7 separate regions of the Homo sapiens genome follow, and all the other regions are linked to region 2. Evidence: promoter capture Hi-C in 16 types of primary human blood cells and fetal thymus (Javierre and others, 2016). All regions are on one chromosome and are shown on one strand. Each heading gives the region's core, a stretch centred on a gene start or on the middle of the fragment in contact. The rest is flanking DNA. Distances are from core to core; before and after follow the strand shown.

The links. The method cuts DNA at HindIII sites, captures the fragments that hold promoters and counts their contacts. A CHiCAGO score of 5 or more calls a contact.
Region 1: a contact is called between a fragment that was not itself captured here and the fragment with the promoter of CMAS in region 2, in 1 of 17 cell types (erythroblasts). The highest score is 5.7, in erythroblasts.
Region 3: a contact is called between a fragment that was not itself captured here and the fragment with the promoter of CMAS in region 2, in 1 of 17 cell types (total CD4 T cells). The highest score is 5.4, in total CD4 T cells.
Region 4: a fragment that was not itself captured here is called in contact with the fragment with the promoter of CMAS in region 2 in 1 of 17 cell types (activated CD4 T cells); the score reaches 6.2 in activated CD4 T cells.
Region 5: a fragment that was not itself captured here is called in contact with the fragment with the promoter of CMAS in region 2 in 2 of 17 cell types (activated CD4 T cells and total B cells); the score reaches 8.2 in activated CD4 T cells.
Region 6: a fragment that was not itself captured here is called in contact with the fragment with the promoter of CMAS in region 2 in 3 of 17 cell types (monocytes, erythroblasts and M2 macrophages); the score reaches 5.7 in monocytes.
Region 7: a contact is called between a fragment that was not itself captured here and the fragment with the promoter of CMAS in region 2, in 13 of 17 cell types (non-activated CD4 T cells, erythroblasts, total CD4 T cells and 10 more). The highest score is 14.2, in non-activated CD4 T cells.

What each region holds. Positions count from the first base shown.
Region 1 is chr12:22,649,254-22,652,084 of GRCh38, reverse strand. All of the region lies in intron 2 of ETNK1 (ethanolamine kinase 1), which reads right to left. Among named protein-coding and RNA genes, the nearest start is that of ETNK1, 25 kb to the right of the region's middle. The HindIII fragment of the contact is 1,255 bases long and covers 678-1,932 here.
Region 2 is chr12:22,044,931-22,047,630 of GRCh38, reverse strand. It overlaps CMAS (cytidine monophosphate N-acetylneuraminic acid synthetase), which reads right to left and starts at 1,413. Exons shown (of 8, transcript NM_018686.6): 1 at 1,068-1,413. The coding sequence starts at 1,327. RefSeq lists enhancers at 281-986, 1,302-1,596 and silencers at 1,289-1,516, 1,160-1,529. The HindIII fragment of the contact is 10,395 bases long and covers 1-2,700 here.
Region 3 is chr12:21,427,890-21,430,623 of GRCh38, reverse strand. No RefSeq gene overlaps it. Among named protein-coding and RNA genes, the nearest start is that of PYROXD1, 8.4 kb to the left of the region's middle. The HindIII fragment of the contact is 1,573 bases long and covers 520-2,092 here.
Region 4 is chr12:22,666,360-22,669,059 of GRCh38, reverse strand. The region is part of intron 4 of ETNK1 (ethanolamine kinase 1); the gene reads right to left. Among named protein-coding and RNA genes, the nearest start is that of LINC02955, 32 kb to the left of the region's middle. The HindIII fragment of the contact is 1,651 bases long and covers 516-2,166 here.
Region 5 is chr12:22,607,072-22,609,771 of GRCh38, reverse strand. It overlaps ETNK1-DT (ETNK1 divergent transcript), which reads left to right. Exons shown (of 4, transcript NR_135030.1): 2 at 18-189. Among named protein-coding and RNA genes, the nearest start is that of ETNK1-DT, 17 kb to the left of the region's middle. The HindIII fragment of the contact is 166 bases long and covers 1,318-1,483 here.
Region 6 is chr12:22,688,080-22,690,779 of GRCh38, reverse strand. ETNK1 (ethanolamine kinase 1) reads right to left here. Exons shown (of 8, transcript NM_018638.5): 8 at 115-2,700. Among named protein-coding and RNA genes, the nearest start is that of LINC02955, 10 kb to the left of the region's middle. The HindIII fragment of the contact is 1,513 bases long and covers 663-2,175 here.
Region 7 is chr12:22,628,079-22,630,778 of GRCh38, reverse strand. The region is part of intron 1 of ETNK1 (ethanolamine kinase 1); the gene reads right to left. Among named protein-coding and RNA genes, the nearest start is that of ETNK1, 4.3 kb to the right of the region's middle. The HindIII fragment of the contact is 1,989 bases long and covers 326-2,314 here.

The DNA.
Region 1 (2,831 bases), core at 56-2,555, 600 kb before region 2:
TGTACCTAAGTAGTCAAATTCCTAGGGATAGAAAGTAGATGACGGTTGCCAGGGGCTGGAGGAAGGAAAGAAGATTTGTTGTTTAAAAAGCATAGAATTGGCCAGGCGTGGTGGCTCACGCCTGTAATCCCAGCATTTTGGGAGGCCGAGGTGGGCAGATCACCTGAGGTCTGGAGTTCGAGACCAGCCTGGCCAACATGGTGAAACCCGTCTCTACTAAAAAATACAAAACTCGGCAGGGCGAGGTGGTGGGCACCTATAGTCCCAGCTACTCGAGAGGCTGATGCAGGAGAATCACTTGAACCTGGGAGGCAGAGATTGCACTTGAACCTGGGAGGCACCACTGCACACCAGGCTGGGCGACATGGCGAGACTCTGTCTCAAAAAAAAAAAAAAAAAAAAGGGATAGAATTGTAGTTTTACATTATAAAAAAAAAATATGTTAGGAAATTAGTTGCACAACCATGTGAATGCAATAACACTATTGAGCTGTATTTTTTAAAAAATGGTTAAGATGGTGACAACTGGAGCCAGAAAGAAATGATTTAGGCAGATAGTGAGGGTAAAGGAGTTCTCGGTAAGGACTCCCTTTTAATAGAAAGCAGCCCCCAAATCACTTCTAACAAAGAGCAGCCTGAAAATTCAAGCTGCAGACATAGATAAGCAAGCTAGAAGCTTGCATGAGTGAATGCCAGCAGCTGTGCCAGTAGAAAAGGGCTACCTGGAAGTCAGGTATGTTCACAACGGAGCCTTCATCTTCCCTTTTCTTTGTCACCATGTGTCTAGTAAAAGAGGCAGGCAACATGGCACTGGCCAAGTAGAGAACCATCTGCATAATAAAAGATTAAAGTGGGGCCACCAGCTTCTACATGCTTTATGCAAAAGGCACGCCTGGTCCGACCAATCTTCCGTGCCCTCTGCAAATCAAACACTGCCTCCTCAAGTTAATCTATAAAACCCTGTACATTACACCACAGAACTGGCAACCCATTTTCTCTGGGACCCCTCTCTGCACAGAGAGCTCTTCTCTTTCTTTTGCCTATTAAACTTCCACTCTTAACCTCACTCTGGTTGTCTGTATCCTAGTTTTCTGTAGTTGTGGAACAACCAACCTCAGGTATTACCCCAGATAAAAATGCTGCTTCAATGGTAAATTTTATGTAGCATTTACCATAATCAAATTTTTTCAGAACAACTATAAACAAATCAAATTTTTATTAACTAAATAAAATGCTCATTGAAAAAGAATTCTTAAAAACACTTTAATCAAGTATACCTCAATTGTTTTCTGCTAGCAAATATTATATACAACAGAAAATGCTACATTTTTATATTTCCTATTTATTTAAAAGATTATTTTTAAATGTTTATTTTTTATATAATATATTTGCTGACACAAAACACAAGCAAATCAAATCCAACAATATATAAAAAGAAATTATACACTGTGACCAAGTGGGATTATCTCAGGTATACAAGGCTGGTTCAATATTTGAAAATTCATTAATGTAATCCAATACATTAACAGACTAAAAAAGAAAAATCACATGAACCTATCGACATGTGCAGAAAAAGCATTTTGCAAAATCTAGCACTCATTATCATAAAAACTCAGCAAACTAGGAATAAAGAGAGAGTATCTTCAATCTGATAAAGAATATCTACAAAAAAAACTACAGCTAACATCCTACTTAATGACACGTAATTTGAAGATTTCCCACTAAGATCAGGAATAAAGAAAGAACATCACTTTTCACCAATCCTTTTTAACACTGTACTGAAAGTCCTAGCTAACACATTAAGACAAGAAAAAAAATAAGAGGTAAGAAAAAAAAAAAACTGTCTTTGTTCATAGATAACATGATTTTCTATGGAGAAAATCCAAAAGAATGGACCAAAAAAACCTCGCGGAATGAGCAATTATAGCAAGCTTGCAGGATTAAAAAAATATGAAAGTCAATTGCTTTCCTACATACCAGTAATGAATATGTGAAAATTGAAAATAAAATGCACTCCTTTTACAGTAACACCCCCAAAAATACAATACTTAGGTATAAATCTAACAAACTATGTACAAGATTTATATGAGGAAGACTATAAAACTCTGATAAAAGAAACCAAATAACTAAATAAGAGATATTCCATGTTCACGGATAAAAAGACTCAATACTGCCAAGATGTCAGTTCTTCCCAATTTGATATACAGATTCAGTGCAATTCCTATCAAAATCCCAGCAAGTTATTTTGTGATATTGAAAAACTGATTCTAAAGTTTACATGTATACTGTATCCCAAATATACACAATTATTATTTGTCAATTAAAAATAAATTCTTAAAAAGTCCATTTTAAAATGTAAAAACTAAAGTTTATAAGGAGAAGCAAAAGGCCCAGAATAGCCAACACAATATTGAAAGACAAGAACAAGTTGGAGGACTAACACTACCTGATTTCAAGACTTACCATAAAGCTATAGCAATTAAGGTAGTGTGATATCTGCAAAAGATTAGACAAACAGATGAAGAAACAGAATAGAGAACCCAGAAACAGACCCATATAAATACAGTCAACTGATTTTTGAAAAGGAGCATAGGAAATATAATGGAGAAAAGATAGACTTTTCAATAAATTGTGCTGAACAACTGGACCTTCACGTGCAAAAACATGAATCTAGACATAGACCTTACACTCTTCATTAAAATTCTGTCAAAATGGATTACAGACCTAAATGTAAAATCCAAAACTAAAATTCCATGAGAAGATAACATAGGAGAAAATGTAGATGACCCTGGATTTGGCAATGACTTTTTAAAAATGACACCAAAGGCATGA
Region 2 (2,700 bases), core at 164-2,663:
TTGGTCCATCCAGGACTTCTTTTGGGTTGAAACATTAAGAAAATTAGTATATTTATACTTTTTTGGCATCTCCCGTTTTTGAACAAGACTGGTTAAATGAAAATCATTTACCCATATATTAATATGGGTAAGCAAATATAGGTTCAAAAAGAAAAAGAGATGACTTCAAAAACAGTCATCTCTTTAAAAATCGAAACATCAAAAGGTTAACATAAATTAATTTCCACAATAACAACACATTCAAATGTAGTTAGGTTGAAGCTATATGTGTAAATTCATTCTTGGCACAGAATTCGATCTCCCTTCTTTTATGAATAACATCAGCTTGTAACTCCTGACCAATTTGGCAATGTATCTAAATTACGCATAATTAAAACTGTCCATAGGGCAGGCGAGGTTCCAAAGGTATGATTAAATGATTTGTAAGTATTAATATATCATAAAACAGTCAGTTGTACACCTTCCCACTGAGTCTCACGTATTTATAAATGTAGGGAGTTTTCTAGATTGTGCTGACTCACAGGAAGATAGCTGGAGTATTTTTCAAAGGTTAGGAAAAGATCTCCAAGCTGAGCTTGAAATTCAGCTCTGACACCCCGACACTCAACTCCATTCATGAACCTGATGCCTCCCTAATCGAGCAGCACCAAGCAGTTATCAGAGGCTGAGCAACAGGGGAGCTTCGATGGCCCCCATCCAAAGAAGTTCACATATTATCACAGATGTTGCACCGGGGTGGCCTCCTTTACTTTTCCCCGTAAGGTCAACCCGGGAGGAGGGGACGGTTGGGGAGGTGTAATCTCCCCTTTTACGGATGATTCTCAAGGGCGGAGACAGGAACTGTCCCAGGTTATGACCATTGGCAGCTACGGAACAAGGAAGGAGCTGGAGCCCTTCCTCCTGGGCTCTCAGCCCGGCCCCAGGCACCCCGGATCTTGCACATCCCTGGCATGAGAGATGGCCCCCTTCCAAGAGCGGTGGCCCCGGAGGCCCCAGCCCCTCCAGCAGCCCGACTCCCTCTCCCGACCCCCGCCCAGGCCGCGCCGCCCACTCTCGCACATGCGCACCTCTGGAAGGCCCCTGAATCCAGGGCCGCACGCAGGACCCAGCCAATGAGCGGGACCCCCGCCAGGTGCTTAATGTTCTTCAGGGGGATGCCTTTGCTGCCTCCCCGGGCCAGAATTAGGGCTGCCAGGTGCGGGGGCTTCTCCACACCTCGGCCCTGGCCGCCGCGAGAGTTGCGCTGCAGCTTCGGCGGCCGGCCCCGGGACGGTCGCCCCCGCGGGTTGGAGACGGAGGTGGCGGCCCCCTTCTCCACCGAGTCCATCTTCCTCCCACGCCTTCTCCCCAGCTTCTCCACATCCGGGAGCTAGTCCCTCACCACCTCAGCTCGGCGCCGCCCGATCCCCGCCTGGCAGCTGGCGCGCGCGGCCGTCCCTCGCCCCGCCCCCTCCCCCGCCCCTCGCGGTGCTCGCTGGGAATTGTAGTCCGCGGCCGCCTCGTCTGGGGCCAGTAGGCCAAGTAGGCTCTGATGAGGTGACCCCAAAACTAAGTCAAGCAGTGGGAGTCCAGAGATATTTGGAGGAAGTGCGGCTTTTGGGGTGCTTGCAAGTGTCTGTAAATTTCTAAAATTAAAAAAGAAAAAAAGTATTTATAATTGCTGAAGAACTTCCCCACTTTAGAATTGTGGTGGGTTTCCCGTTGCATACCTTGATGCACCCTGACACGAATCCATTTTATATTTTAAAATGTACATTTTAAACATACACCTTTTTTTAATGCCCCTGGGTCATTTTTTCCAAGAAATTACTGACCAGCTCATTCAAATATCCTACAGGCGCCTTAAACTCAACGTTTTAAAAACTCCATTTTTCATATGCTCTCCGCACTTTGATCGACATCAGCATTCCCTAGCAGCAGAAATTTGGAAGTCAGCTTTACTGGTCACCTCTAGTGTGGCCGACACTTGGTTTTTTGGTTTTGTTTTGTTGTCTGCTAAAAATCTTTTCCTTTTAGGAATTGATCCCTCTCTCATCCGGTGAGGGTTTCCCTCACATTCTCTGCACTGTGTGTGACCCAAGCTGGTCCATCTACGCACCCCATTTTCCTTAACACACCTGTGGTCTAGGGACAGGCATATGACCAAGCAGAGCCCACTGGAGTCCTTTCCAGAGAGTCTTGGAAAGAAAGGATCTTTCTCGTGCTGACTGGGTGCTAAGGACCTTGTTAACCTGAAGCCTCAGGGCAAGGGTAGGGTAGGGCGGCAGGGGGGCTTTGCTGTTCTGAAATGGGCTGGAAGACTGATGTTCTCCCTGAGGAAGCAGAACAATGACATGTAGGGATTAAAGAGAAAGAATTCTGGAGGCATCATTTAAACTCTTTTTTTTTTTTGAGACAGATTCTCACTGTGTCCCCCAGAAGGCTGGAGTGCAGTGGCACAATCTCGGCTCGCTGCAACCCTCTGCCACCCATTCTCAAGCGTCCTGAGTAGCTGGGATTACAGAGGGGCACCACCACACCCAGATAATTTTTGTATTTTTAGTTGAGTTGGGGGTTTCACCAGGTTGGCCAGGCTGGTCTTGAACTCCTGACCTCAAGTGATCTGCCCGCCTCAGCCTCTCAAAGTGCTGGGATTATAGGCATGAGCCGCCACGCCTGAGCATTTAAACCCTGATCCAGCCAAGAGGCTCAAAGACATAC
Region 3 (2,734 bases), core at 57-2,556, 620 kb after region 2:
ATGAATTTGCCTTATGAGATACTGCTGTTCCTTTCTCAATAGTTTGATATGATATTTTGAGACCAGGTTGTTCTGTTGTTCTAGGTAGATAAATGTTACAGTCACCCCACAGTATCAGGAAGGAACTCACAGTATCAGGAAGGAACCCCCATCCAAAATTTGATTTGGATGTGAAGATTAATGATCACACACACATACACACACACACACACACACACACACACACTCACCCCATGAGGGAATGAAAAGGCTTATTACTTACATAATGAGGCTTTCTGGGGAGAATAGGACAGGATTATAAGCTGATCCAAAAATAGCTTGGAGAGCAGAGAAGGGTGACAGGCCCTGTTTTTAATGAGATTAGGTGATCGAGCTGGGGTGAGAGTTCTGGCACATACAGGCCAGTCCTTGTATGGCTTGAAAATCACGTGGGCACCAAGGGAGGGGCATACTGAAACCTTCTCAGACTGCCCAGATGTGGGGCAGCAAGGGACAGGGGAGTCGTGAGGCCTGAAAGCTTCCAGCAGTCAAACATCAACAATGGAATCAGGCTCTTTATTACAATAAGAGGCTTTCCTGCTGGGTTTCCAATGCTGTTTACTCGGTTTATAAAATTTCTAAGCTCTTCACAAGCGGTACCATGGAGCTTCATATTTCAATTTAAGTTTCAAACCATATCAACAGGAAATACTCTTATTAAGTTGTAAGTACACAAATTCCAAAGCCAAATATAAAACCTTTTTTATTATCCGCACCTCGTTTCTATAACTTTTGAATCATGATGAAAACTTCTAAAAGATGTCCTTCATAGTACGAAATAGTATAATTTGCATGTACTTTTCTGTATCCTTTATAAAGAAATAGATTTATAACTTTCATGCTGTTTTTGAATAAAACATTAGTACTTATGTTTCATGGCATTCATTCATTAATTGCTATGATTTCCATATATAAAATAATTGTGACAGCAGTTGAAAGAATTATTATTTAATGATCTGAGGCTTAATTATTTTCTATTTAATACATCAGGTAACATTTTAACATCAGTTACATTGAAGATCAGGGAAATTCAGATTTTTTTTTCATAATTAAATAAAATCAGGCCAGATATGGTGGTTCACACCTGTAATTTCAACACTTTGGGAGGGAGGCTGAGACTGGTGGATCGCTTGAGTCCAGGAGTTTGAGACCAAACTCGGCAATATGGCAAAAGTTCGTCTCTATAAAAAACACAAAATTAGCCAGGCATGGTGGTGCATGCCTGTGGTCTCAGCTACTCCAGAAGCTGAGATGGGAGGATCACCTTAGCCCAGGAGGGCAAGGCTGCAGTGAGCTATGATTGTACCATTTCACTCCAGCTTAGGTGACAGAGTGAGACCCTGTCTCAAAAAAAATTAAAAAAAAAAAAAACTGTTTTCAGGCTAGTTATTATACTAAAGAAAAAGGAAGAAGCAACACTTTCTACTCCTATTTTTGTTGATTAAAATAACTTGTGATTTCTAAAAAATAAATTAAGATGCAAAGAAAGTACAGCATAATTTATTCGTAATGAGTAAAATGTTAAATTATGGTATCGAATGTGGCTAATTTATTTCAGTTGACGGACAGTACCGAAATTAAAGATTTTTTATCTCTTAATTTTACTTCTTTTAGAAAGAAAAATGAAACACATTTGTTGTTTCAAATATTATTGCAGTACACATTAATTTTTTTAAGTTTAAACTAACCCCAAACATATGTATATGAACATTTAAGTAAATTTTCCCTTTTAATTTTGAAAATATATTCAAGTTTACATGAGATTTTAAAGTTTTAGCTGTCAAAATATCTTTACTCAGTTTATTTATGCTAACAATGGTGGACATTGAGAATGCTTGACCAAAAGCAGCAAGCTACAAAGGAAAAGAAACATTCTCATTTCATCTTCAAACTTTGGAGATACAAGTCTAAAAAATTTCTGGCTTGATTCAAGTCAGGCCATTTAGTGCGTAGATTACATTTAGCAAAAGAGCAGTTAAGAAAACATATTTGATATAACAACAAAAATAGTTATTCTTTTGGCCGTGAAATTGCATTCACAAAGGAAAAAGCTTTTTTTTTCTCAATAAGAAGAAATATTTATTTAAATGGACACATCAGCTGGCTGTGTTGTGATTTGAAATTATCTAAATTTTTGTCAGTTGACTAATAGTTACAGCATCAGATGTCTGTAAAGAACTTTCTTTTGCCCCAGCCGTCTGCCTCAGGAACGGACACTATGCTTTTCTGTATTTATTAATGTAACCTGTTGAAGAGGAATGTTAATGTCAATTGTCAGATGGTCATGACTTATGGATTCATAATGTAATTACCTTCCTTATATTCAAAGGTAATTGAGAAATAAGTCAAAACATTTTACAGATCTAATTATATTGCAAAAACATGAATTACTTTTTGACAATATTCCTATTTTTGTTTTACTTCTTTGGTTACTTTTTTTCTCTTTCCTGTGATTATTCTTTTTTTTTTTACCTGCCCCTAAATGTAGTTGTTTCTCAAAGCCATCTTCTTTACCAAATTTTCTTCTCTTTCTATATGTCCTTTATCAGTACATTTACTCCTACTTGCCTATCAAATATTCATTATTCCCTGCTTTCTTACTAAAGGAACCCCAATTTTGTTTGAATTGACAATGTGCCATCCAAAAACACTTGTTTTTCTAGACTCTTTTAGCTAAGGTAGCCATGGTACACAG
Region 4 (2,700 bases), core at 92-2,591, 620 kb before region 2:
GCTCATATTAACTGTTACATGCCAATAAAAATACACAGCCCAGTCCTGAAGCTTACTTTTGCCACATAAACATAAGCTTCAATTTCAATTTTCAAAATTATATTTAGAATTTGGCAAATACAGTTAAAATGGCAGGTAAAACATCCCTGCTTGTAGAGTAAATACAATTTAATTAAAGCATAGCACATTTTAACAAAAGTTAAAATCTGTTTCACTATGAAAATTTTAGCAATGACTTTTTGTAGTAACATTAATTAATTAAAACTAGCCTTTATTTTTAAATGCTATGTTGAGTTTATAAATAATGAAATTTTAAAAATAAGAAAATGAAGCTAACAAGATACAGATGAGGCTGTTACCAGGCTCCGTGCATGTGAACAAGTGATGCGATAAACCTCCAGTCAGTGCGTTTAAGAAGCACGGGGTGCGCCGCCACATGGCAGCAACAATGGCATACCTAATCTGTAGCAGATGAAGAAAATTTGGCAAACTCACATTGTACAAGACACAAAGCTTAAAAGGAAAAAAATTTAAAAAAAAAATCTGCATTAACTATTCTTTTTCAAACTATTGCAAACAAAGTGGAACTCAACCTTAAATTTAATCTTCTGCAACAAAGTAAAATTTAAAAAGCCAACTTCCCTTAGTTAGGGTGCCAGAAAAATCAAATTACTGGAAAATGCTTTCCTAACAACAGAAAATATACTTTTTCCTTCTATAAATTTAACTTCTGATTTCTAAAATTTCGCTTTATTTAAACGAATATCCACATCAGCATTAATAATTAACTAGCTCATATAGCATGATCATCATCTCAGTTCTTTAAGACATGAATTTTTAATTGGGGTTTCAAGGATGAAAAGACAACTAGAATATTCCCTAAAATTTTATGTGTATGTGCACTTTCTTAGGAAGAGATTCTCAATTTTTCAGATTCTCAAGGGACCCCTGACCTTTAAAAAGTAAAGAACTACTACTTTAAGGGCTAGGTGTGTTATTTTATTTATCTTTATGTAATTATCACAATGACAAGCACAAAGTAAAGTATATGATTAATGGATAAAACTACAATTTGAATTTTCCAAACCTACATTTTGTCTTTTATTACTTTATTTCTTGCATATCTTTATCAGCGTAATCAAATCCCGACACTACTGGTTAAACTGTTCAAATCTTAGTATACTAAAAATACTCTGCCAATTTTTAAAGTACTTTAAAACTAAAAAATAATAATGTATTACCCAAGGCTATATAATTATCACATGACATGTTTGTCTGAATTCCTTTATTTTGTTGTTAGGAGAAAGGAATAAAAATGAAAAGCAAAATAGTCAATATGAGAACCTGAAAAATCTTTCCAACTCACCCTACTTGCTCTGCAATGTTAGGCAGGTTCGAAGAGAACGATACGAAAAGTAACTATAATCCTACTAATGTTAGCAAAATGTTTTCTATTTTATACAGAAAAAGACAGGGAGTATTCTAGTCTGAAACACTTTCCCTTTAATCTTCACGCTGGTGTCCTGTAGTACTCTGTACCCCTTCACCAGAGCACTCATCATTCTAAATGTAAGTATCTGTTCAGTGATTGGACTCCTCCACTACAAGATACACAGCCTCCTGGAGGGGCACTAGGGTCCCTTCCCTCTTTTATCCTGCAATCCACAGAGCAATCCCTAGGACACAGGAAATATTTAAATGCTAGTAGAAAAAATGAAGTTTGCAGAAAATGCTGACACACAATAACACGTTTGCTGGGGGAGGGGAAAAGACAAAAAAGCATGAAAAACTAAAGAAAAAAGTGTGGTGTTTCTGACATTTTTATTCAAGTACAAGACTGAACACAGTGGGCCAGAATGAATGAATGAAAAAACAAACAAACTAGTACCTATATTAGGTCACTCTTTCTTCATAACTTCAGGTTTTTACAGTTCATTTAAGTTTTTTATTATCTGACTTACAGATATTTTATTTTCTGCTAACTAGTGGTTGAGAATACAAATTAAAACAGAGTTAAAAATTAAACTACATTTAAAAACACCACCCTAGAAAACATAGTTTACCAAACACAAAAATCAATTTGTATTTATTTAAATTTTTTAAAAGTACCAATGAAAAAACTCTTCTCAGTCATTAAAACATGAGTAACATGACAACTACAAAGCTTTCTCAGGAGTAATAATAGAATGGATAAGATTTAGAGCCAAACAAGTGACTATGGGGACTCACCCATTTTCTATTTATATTGTATAGAACTCTTAAAACAAAGCAAAATAAAACAAAACCTGATTTACTCTTTAATTCCCAGAAAAAGCTTTCCTTTTCTTCCACTCATTTGTATTTCCTTAAACAGCTGTAAATCAGCTTCTTGTATTGTGCTGACAGAGAAAATAAACAGTGATTGCCATTACTGAAATTTAAAGTTAAATATTAGGTATTTACATGAGCTTTTATGAAGAAATGGGGACAGCAGGAGAAATGAAAGTCACCAAAAGTCATGAGACCAATAAACATTCTGAGAGAACATCAAGACATGAGATAGAAATCTCAACAGCTTTAGTAATTTCTTGATGTCAGTAGTTAAATGATTAGTTGAAATTAAAATATTAGATTTGAAGTTAGTCATAGGCAATATTACAATTTATTCTGCTTAATATAAAGTCTATTAAATTAATGATTGATTTAAAAGATGACTGATAA
Region 5 (2,700 bases), core at 151-2,650, 560 kb before region 2:
CATTGTATATTTTAAAGCTGCTATGAGTAACACGATCTGGAAAGACAGCGCTAGCAAGGAATGAGGAGTGATACAGTGACTGGAGGCTAAGAGATAATGTCTGCAAGTCACCTAAAACCATTGCAGACACAGGGAGATTGATGGATTTGGAGGACTTCTGGTTGTGAAGACTCTGACGATTGCTAAAGAGTTAAGTGAAATACTAGCGTGGTTTTTTTGTGTGTGTTTTTTGTTTGTTTGTTTGTTTGTTTGTTTATAAAAACAGGCAGAATGTAGCCCTATTAATTGTAAACTGGCAAGATAAACCAGGATGCCAGTAACCACTAGACGACAGATTGTCAAGAAATCCAGTAATAACCATCCACAAGAGTTTAAAGTACAGTGAGGCAAAATCCTGATGGCTTTAAAAGAATAAAGCCTACTGTACCAATTAGTAAACTTTTATGATAGTGTTAGACCATTAGTGATAATGAGGAAACATTGGATTTAATATATTTGAACTGTGGTAAGATGTGATTCTTTCTTTTTGTCAACACATTAAAACCATATGGTTTAGAATCCAGTATTATAAATTAGAAAATTGACTGGAAATCTATCCAACTGGTTCACAGTGCTATTGCTGCTGAAATTTACTAAATGGGTCTATTTAAGGATCAGTCCAAGGGATTTTTAATATACTTATAGGAGACAAGGATGAGACATTTTACAAAAAAAACAGTAGGAGTTTCTACCCACTCATACACCTCTGAGTCAGTGTTTAGAAACAGTTAATTGCCAAACTGAGGTACACCTTCTTGACCCAAAACCGTATGTCTGAAACAAATATGTAAGAGGTGTCCAAACACAGACCTTCAGATGGAAAAAATAAAAAGGAAGGTGGGGAAGGGGAAGAGGCAGAGTGGTAGAAAAACCTAAATAATATAAGATGTCCTAATTAACTATAAAAGGAATACAAAACTTATGTATTTAGATAGATACAAATTGCCTCCTTTAATGTTAGTTATCTCATGAGTTTATCACAAAATAATAAATGATAAAAGCAGTACACATGACAAATCATAAAAAACCAAAATTATCAACCTGAGGGTGAAAAGAAGGACCAAATATTATGAAGCAAATGAATTCTTCTAAGTAAAAACTGAGTCAAAAGGAAATTTAAAATATATTGTATTAGGCCATTCTTGCATTACTATAAAGAAATACTTGAGCTTGGGTAATTTATAAATAAATGAGATTTCATTGGCTCACAGTTATGTAGGCTTTACAGGAAGCATGGTGCTGGCATCTGCTCAGCTTCTAGGGAGGCCTCACCAAGCTTACAATCATGGTGGAAGGTGGAGGGGGACCAGGCACATCACATGGTGAAAGCAGGTGAAAGTGAGAAAGAGAGTAGAGTGAGGAGGTGCCACACACTTTTAAATGACCAGATCTCGAGTGAATTTAAAGCAAGAACTGACCTATCACCAATGGGATGGCCTAAGCTTTTCATGAGGGATCCATTCCCATGGTCCAAACACCTGCCACCAGGCCTCACCTCCAGCACTGGAGATTATATTTCAACATGAGATTTAGCTGGGGACAAATATCCAAACTATGCATATATTAATACTATTTTCAAATTTATTGATAAGAAAAGTATATACAAAAACGGGCTACTGCTAAATCAGAAATTTTTTTATTATCAGAATAGGGCAAGAGAAAATAAGCACTGTGTTTAACATTTAAAAAAATATCAGGGCTGGGTGCAGTGGCTCATGCCTATGATCGTAGCATTTTGGGAGGCCGAGGAGGTGAGCGGATGACCTGAGCTCAGGAGTTCGAGACCAGCCTGGGCAATGTGGCAAAACCCCGTCTCCACAAAAAATACAAAAATTAGCCAGATATGGTGGCTTGCACCTGTAGTCCCAGCTACTTGGGAGACTGAGGTGGGAGGATTGTTTGAGCCTGGGAGGTAGAGGTTGCAGTTTGCTGGGATAGCACCACTGCACTGTGTCTCAAAAACAAAAACAAAAACCTGCAGGGAGGGGAAATGGGAAGAGCAGTCTCCAGAAAATCAATCTCTCAGCTTAGCCAAGGCTACCTCAGCTATAATAGAATATGCAAATATAAATGGGATTCTGTTGTGCCACCAATAACCAGTTTGGGGGAAAATATTTTTTCAAAAAAAAAAAAAAGATTGCATAGGCATATGCAGCATAAAGAGTAAGTTACTCAGGAATAAAGATGTGCAAGAACTTTTTCTTCTTTGGTATATGCTCATTTTTTAAATTATAAAATATTAAAATGTAAAAAGAAACAAATAGTGTCTTTTTTCTACTCAGCAATAATTACAAATAACATTAGCTCCACATGGTTTCGTTAAAAATAATTTAATCCAAATGGTGATTAGTCTAAATGACAAAGTGGTCAAAACCCATTCTCAGTAATTAACTTTTACACATGATGCTCCATTTACCAATTTCTCAATCATTATGCATCTTTAATAATTTTTGTCTGTTTTGGAATTTTTCAGATGGTTTTCCTGTTTTTCTTAAGTATTTTCAGCTAATTCTATAGGTCTGAGCTACATGAACACTGAAATTTTAAAAATAACCTAAATACTAAGTGGGAAACAAGAAATTTGTGTTACCCAGGCCCCATAAACTTAGGCAGTCAATAAATTAAAATGTAGTCACAAAAAGTATCCATTGAAATGAAAAA
Region 6 (2,700 bases), core at 170-2,669, 640 kb before region 2:
GAATCACTCCACATATACATTTATACACTAACTTTGGAAAGTCTTGTGTTTGCAGATATTCACAAGGAAAACCTCAAAAATAAGTTGAAGTAACAATAAAATTTATGAATACACTGTAGTTAGAACTCAACTTTATTGTTACAACGAATTTTTATTTACAGAATATAAATCTCTTCAAAAAGATACATTCCTTCATTTAATCAATGGTAAAAAGCCTTATTAACAGAAATAAAGCCTAAACATCACTTATATTTGAACTGAAAGACAAACAGCTTCATTAAAAGTTTATGAACACATAGTGAAAATGTATTTTTACTTAACCAGTTACATGAATGAGGCTGTTTTTAATTTTCTTCACTGCCAACCTCATTTTATCCACAGAACAAATTTTATTTAAATTAACAGTAGTAAAAATGTAAAACTTAAATTTTGAACATGAAAATATGAAACAAGAAAACAGGAAGTATCTTCATTATCAAACAGATTAACAAATTCTCAGACAGATATTTTCTGAGGCATAGCAAAACACCTACATCAAAAGTTGCATTCATTTAAGAGGTATCAATACATTTTCAGTGCTGAGACTATTTGTAGCACTTACATTATATACAAAGCAGCATTATACTACTATGGTTCACATTTGATAAACACGAATTTAAGCTTTATGCCACAATTTCCCAATTCAACATAAAGCTAACGCAATGACAGTTACCCAATTTCATTCTTTTTCTTCTGAAACTGAATAAGGAAATTATCATTTAAGCACATGGAATAATGGCCATGTCTTTTTCCTTTTAATAACAGTATATTTTAAAACTCAAATACTTCATATCATGGAAATTTGACCAAGCTGTACAAAGGCTCCTAAATACAGTACAGTCAAAAAGTTTCCTCTTTGCAGACTCAATTTATAGTCAATTTAGTACAGATAAATATAGGAAACTACTTCAGATTATTGGACAAATAAGAATTTCAGTGTGTCACTACCTATAATTAAGTAGCAGCACACCACAACCACAGCAAGTAAACACTAATCTCCTCTACTGCCTTTTTGGGGTCTTTTCCAGTCACAGGAGCTAATTTACAGGGATACCACTGGGTTTCAACCAATCTCTGAAAGTTCCTTTATTATGAGTTTTGAAATTTAACTAATGCATCACCTACAATTCTGTTGGCTAGTTTTTTTCTTACTCTTCACTAATTAGTTTTAAATACAATATGTAATGTTTTCAAATTTTTATAAACATAGGTGTTGTACTAAAATGATTAATGGCATTTGAAATACAACAAATGGGTAAGATGTTAACCAAAACAATGGGATTAAGAGTATTTTAGAAAGCGATTTTTTGTTAACTAGAAAAGCTACAGGATTCACAATGAATACAGATACAATATTTTTAACCCTGCTCTTTTATTACATCAGTAGTATAGTAAGTGCATAAAGTATAGAAGAGAAAGAAAATTTCAGGAGAGAAACTTACAAAAAACTTGAAGTTTGATGCGTCAAACACAAAATAGTTTAAAACAGTTTACAGTTCTTATAAGCACTATCATAATTTTTTCTACCCAAATAATTCAGGTCTTCATTCCATTTCAAACTGCAATCCAGAAATGAAGATTTTCAGTGTAAAAACTGTTCAGAGAAATCTAATTCATTATGTAATACATCTTATTAATTTCAGTTTTCAAGTATTCAAGTAATGCATACCCAAGTATTTTCTGTTACAGCAACACATTTACAGACTAAGCCTCAAACATGGGGAAAAATTCATTTAAAATAATTGATACACTTTTCTGTCCAACGACATCAAACCCAAGACATGACACTGGAATCACACAAGTGGTATATAAAAGTTAAAAATTTTAAAATAAGGTGGTTCAATATAAATAATGTCTTCTTTTCAAAAAGAACTGAAAACAGGTTATCTTAATACATAACTAAATTCCCAGTAAAAGGACATTCTGGAATCTAATGGACTAAAGAAAAACCAGAGCAAATCAATTTTGAAAGATGAAGCTGCTTTACCACATACTTAAAATGATTTTTCCTCTGTGCATAATAATTACTAGCATTTGTCTTCTGCATAAAGTCGCACAGGTTACTGTCAACAAGTTTCCTAGCATAAAGCATCGCTAACTTTGTCTATCAACTGAATGACTGATTGATTAAAAGCTTAAGTCTGTATCACTTTGGAATGCTTATTAAAAACAATTTAAAGCAGAAAATTGAAATGACAGTATTTTCACTTATATTATGAAGACAGAAATTCGTAAAATGGTACAGAAGGCTTCTGTGTAATGTAAAAAAGAAATATTTGTATAATTTTAAAAGTGGAGGGTTCTAACTTTTAATTGAGAGTGGGGGAAACTTTTTTTCTTTAAATCTGGAAGCTGTAGTAACATATTTATGAAGTTAAATATTTTTAGTTCAGCAAAAATGGAAATAATTGTCATTACAAGATTACTTAAGTCTTTTCTGTCTTTTATGATCCTATCATGATCAACTTTAAATTTAGAGAAGTCATTTGAGATATGCTTAAGTTGAACTAAAGACTTATTATTTGTCTAATTTCTGTATATATGGAAATTAGATTCACATTGGGATATCTAAAATTTCAAGGTTTTTTTGTAGAAAAAAATTAACAACCCTAAAAATAGGAAATTATTAAATTACATTTTTAATTTCCTTTAGCTTGGAAT
Region 7 (2,700 bases), core at 71-2,570, 580 kb before region 2:
ATTAGCTGAGCATGGTGGCGCACATCTGTAATCCAAGCTACTTGGGTGGCTGAGGCACGAGAATCACTTGAACCTGGGAAACGGAGGTTGCAGTGAGCTGAGATCACACCACTGCACTCCAGCCTGGGCTACAGCGAGACTCTGTCTCAAAAAAAATAAAATAAAATAAAATAAAATACAAAAAGAAAAATATCCAGTGGCTTCCCATGATGTCCTAAATGATGAGTAAGCTACTCAAAGTCTAGCTTCATTGCCTTTGTGAGATAGTTTTCCTTGCTCAGAAATGTTTCCCTTTTCAATCTGATCTCATCTACCCTTCAAAGCTTAGCTCAGGTACCCCCACCTCTATGAAGCCTTCTGTCCTACGTTCTTCTATGCCTACCTTGTGCTACAGTTAGTTGTACAAGGACTCTTACTGAAAACTAGCATTACAGCTAGTACAAAAAACACATGTCAGAATTACTGAATTTTAGGAGCTCACAATTCTCTCAGTTGGGATGGGAGAATTGGAAATGAGAGGTGGAAGAACGTAGTACCAAAACATGCGATGCGTAATTGTAGGTATTTCATTGAATTCTCATGACTACTTTCCAAGGTAATACCATTTTATAGAGACTTTAAAACTTGCCAAAGGTTATAAATGGCTGGAAATAATATTCAAAAACCATCCTCTTTCCACATTATGCTCAGTCCCCAAAAAGATGTGACGCAGTTTGTGTAGTCCAAGTTACATGGCTATTATACAGGAAAACAAACTAGCACTTTAGGCTCCTGTCTTCATAGTCACATCTTAATAAAATACATGGGAGCCTAACAAATATTTCATGTTTTTGATGGGCGTCTATTAAACATTATATACTTTATTATTCTAAAATGCTGAAGACAGGGAGGGAATAGGAAACAGAAAACTGGATGTAATCACTAACATTAAAAGTTACACTGAATATAAACCATGACTCCTTATTTGTATCTACAGGACTCAAGATTTCCTATAATCTTAGGGAAAGTAAACTAATATATTGTTTACTTTTTTAATATATTAAAAAATTAGCCGTAACTTACTACATTAGCTTACCTAAGACTTTTCAGAAGCTACTGCTTAAAGGAACAAACTCATCTTTTTAAAAACAGAAAAGAAAATCAATTATTATATCAGAACACTAGTGGAGACATAACTTAACACAGCAATTGTATAGATCTGGCTTTTTCTTCTTCCTTTAAGGCAAAGACCAATATAAAATATCAACTATCAATATTAAGAGGAGTTACAGGTTTTTAATAGATTATTTAGGTAACTACCTCCAACACTGTTAGAAAGAGGAAGGATATGAAAACTGCTGTGTAGCTACACAACCTAACACAAAGATTAATTTCCATGATAGAATACATATGCTTAAAAAAATGATGAAAAGATTTTTTAAAATATGCATTCAATAACAGGCAAAAACCTGTAGTAAAGCAGAAAGAACAGTACATTTTTTAAACTTCTTGGGTAATCTTTGCATGTGAACTAAATTTGAATGTTCATTCCATAAACATTACGTTGTTATAATTTTCTTATTTGTCTTCCCCATCGGACTAGGAATTTCAAAGAGCAAATATTTGTTTTTTGATTCAAGTATCCAATATATAGTAGGTGCTCAGCAGCAATAATAATTATCATGAAAGACAGCATTTATTTTACCCTCACAATAACCCATTGAGGTAGGGACAACTACTGGATCAATTTTACAGCTCAGGATACTGAGACAGGAAGTTTAATGATTTGACCAGAGTAACAAAGCTAGTAAAGTATAGAATCTGGACTCAAAACTAGCACTGTGTTCAAACCCCATGCTCTTGAGCACTGTAACACACTGTTATTGAAAAGCTAAGTTGCTATAAGGTACCATATAGCAAGCAATCTCATTTAGACCCAACAAAGGAATAAATATATTAGTTTTGTAATGTTAAATAATAATTACGGTATTAATTCCTACCTATGAAGCCTTTGCCATTATCTACTATAAGTCCCAAGTAATGGAAAAATTCATAGTGACAAGTTAGTGAGAAAAACAACGTTGCTTAATACTGCAAACAGAAAGACCCTGAGACAACATAACTGGAATATTCCAAACACTAATTCATCAGCTCTTCAGAAAATGAAAAACAATTTTAAGAGTCCGTTGAGAATTATTATGGACCTGAGATCTGACTTGATTCTTTATTCCTTTATACGATGACTCTCCAAAGAAAAGTATAAAAATTAAAAATCAAAATCTTCAAATAAGTTAAACAGTTGTTACACAACAAAAGTAACTCGTGAAGGAAAGCTTAAGTAATCCCTTTTTCCTAAAATGGTGTCACATATGAAAAAAGTAATGCAAATTTATGTTCAAGGGAACTTTAAAGCAGAATCTTTTTATGAGCCAAAGCTTTTAAGAAATTAATTTTATACAGAAGCACCTTCCCTGCCTAAATCATAATATACAAACAAAACTCTTGGTCATAGAACAATAATTCATAAGATGGTTTATCATCTCAGATCTGCCATTTGTAAACGGCAAATTCAGTTTCATTAACTATATGATACATATTAACAGTACCGTCTACATCTACCTCACAGGATAGTTGGGAGAATGCATGTGAAAGTGCTTTATAAACAGTAAAGGATTATTAAATACAAAGCACTGTGGCTGTATTGTTGTTTTAGATTTACTC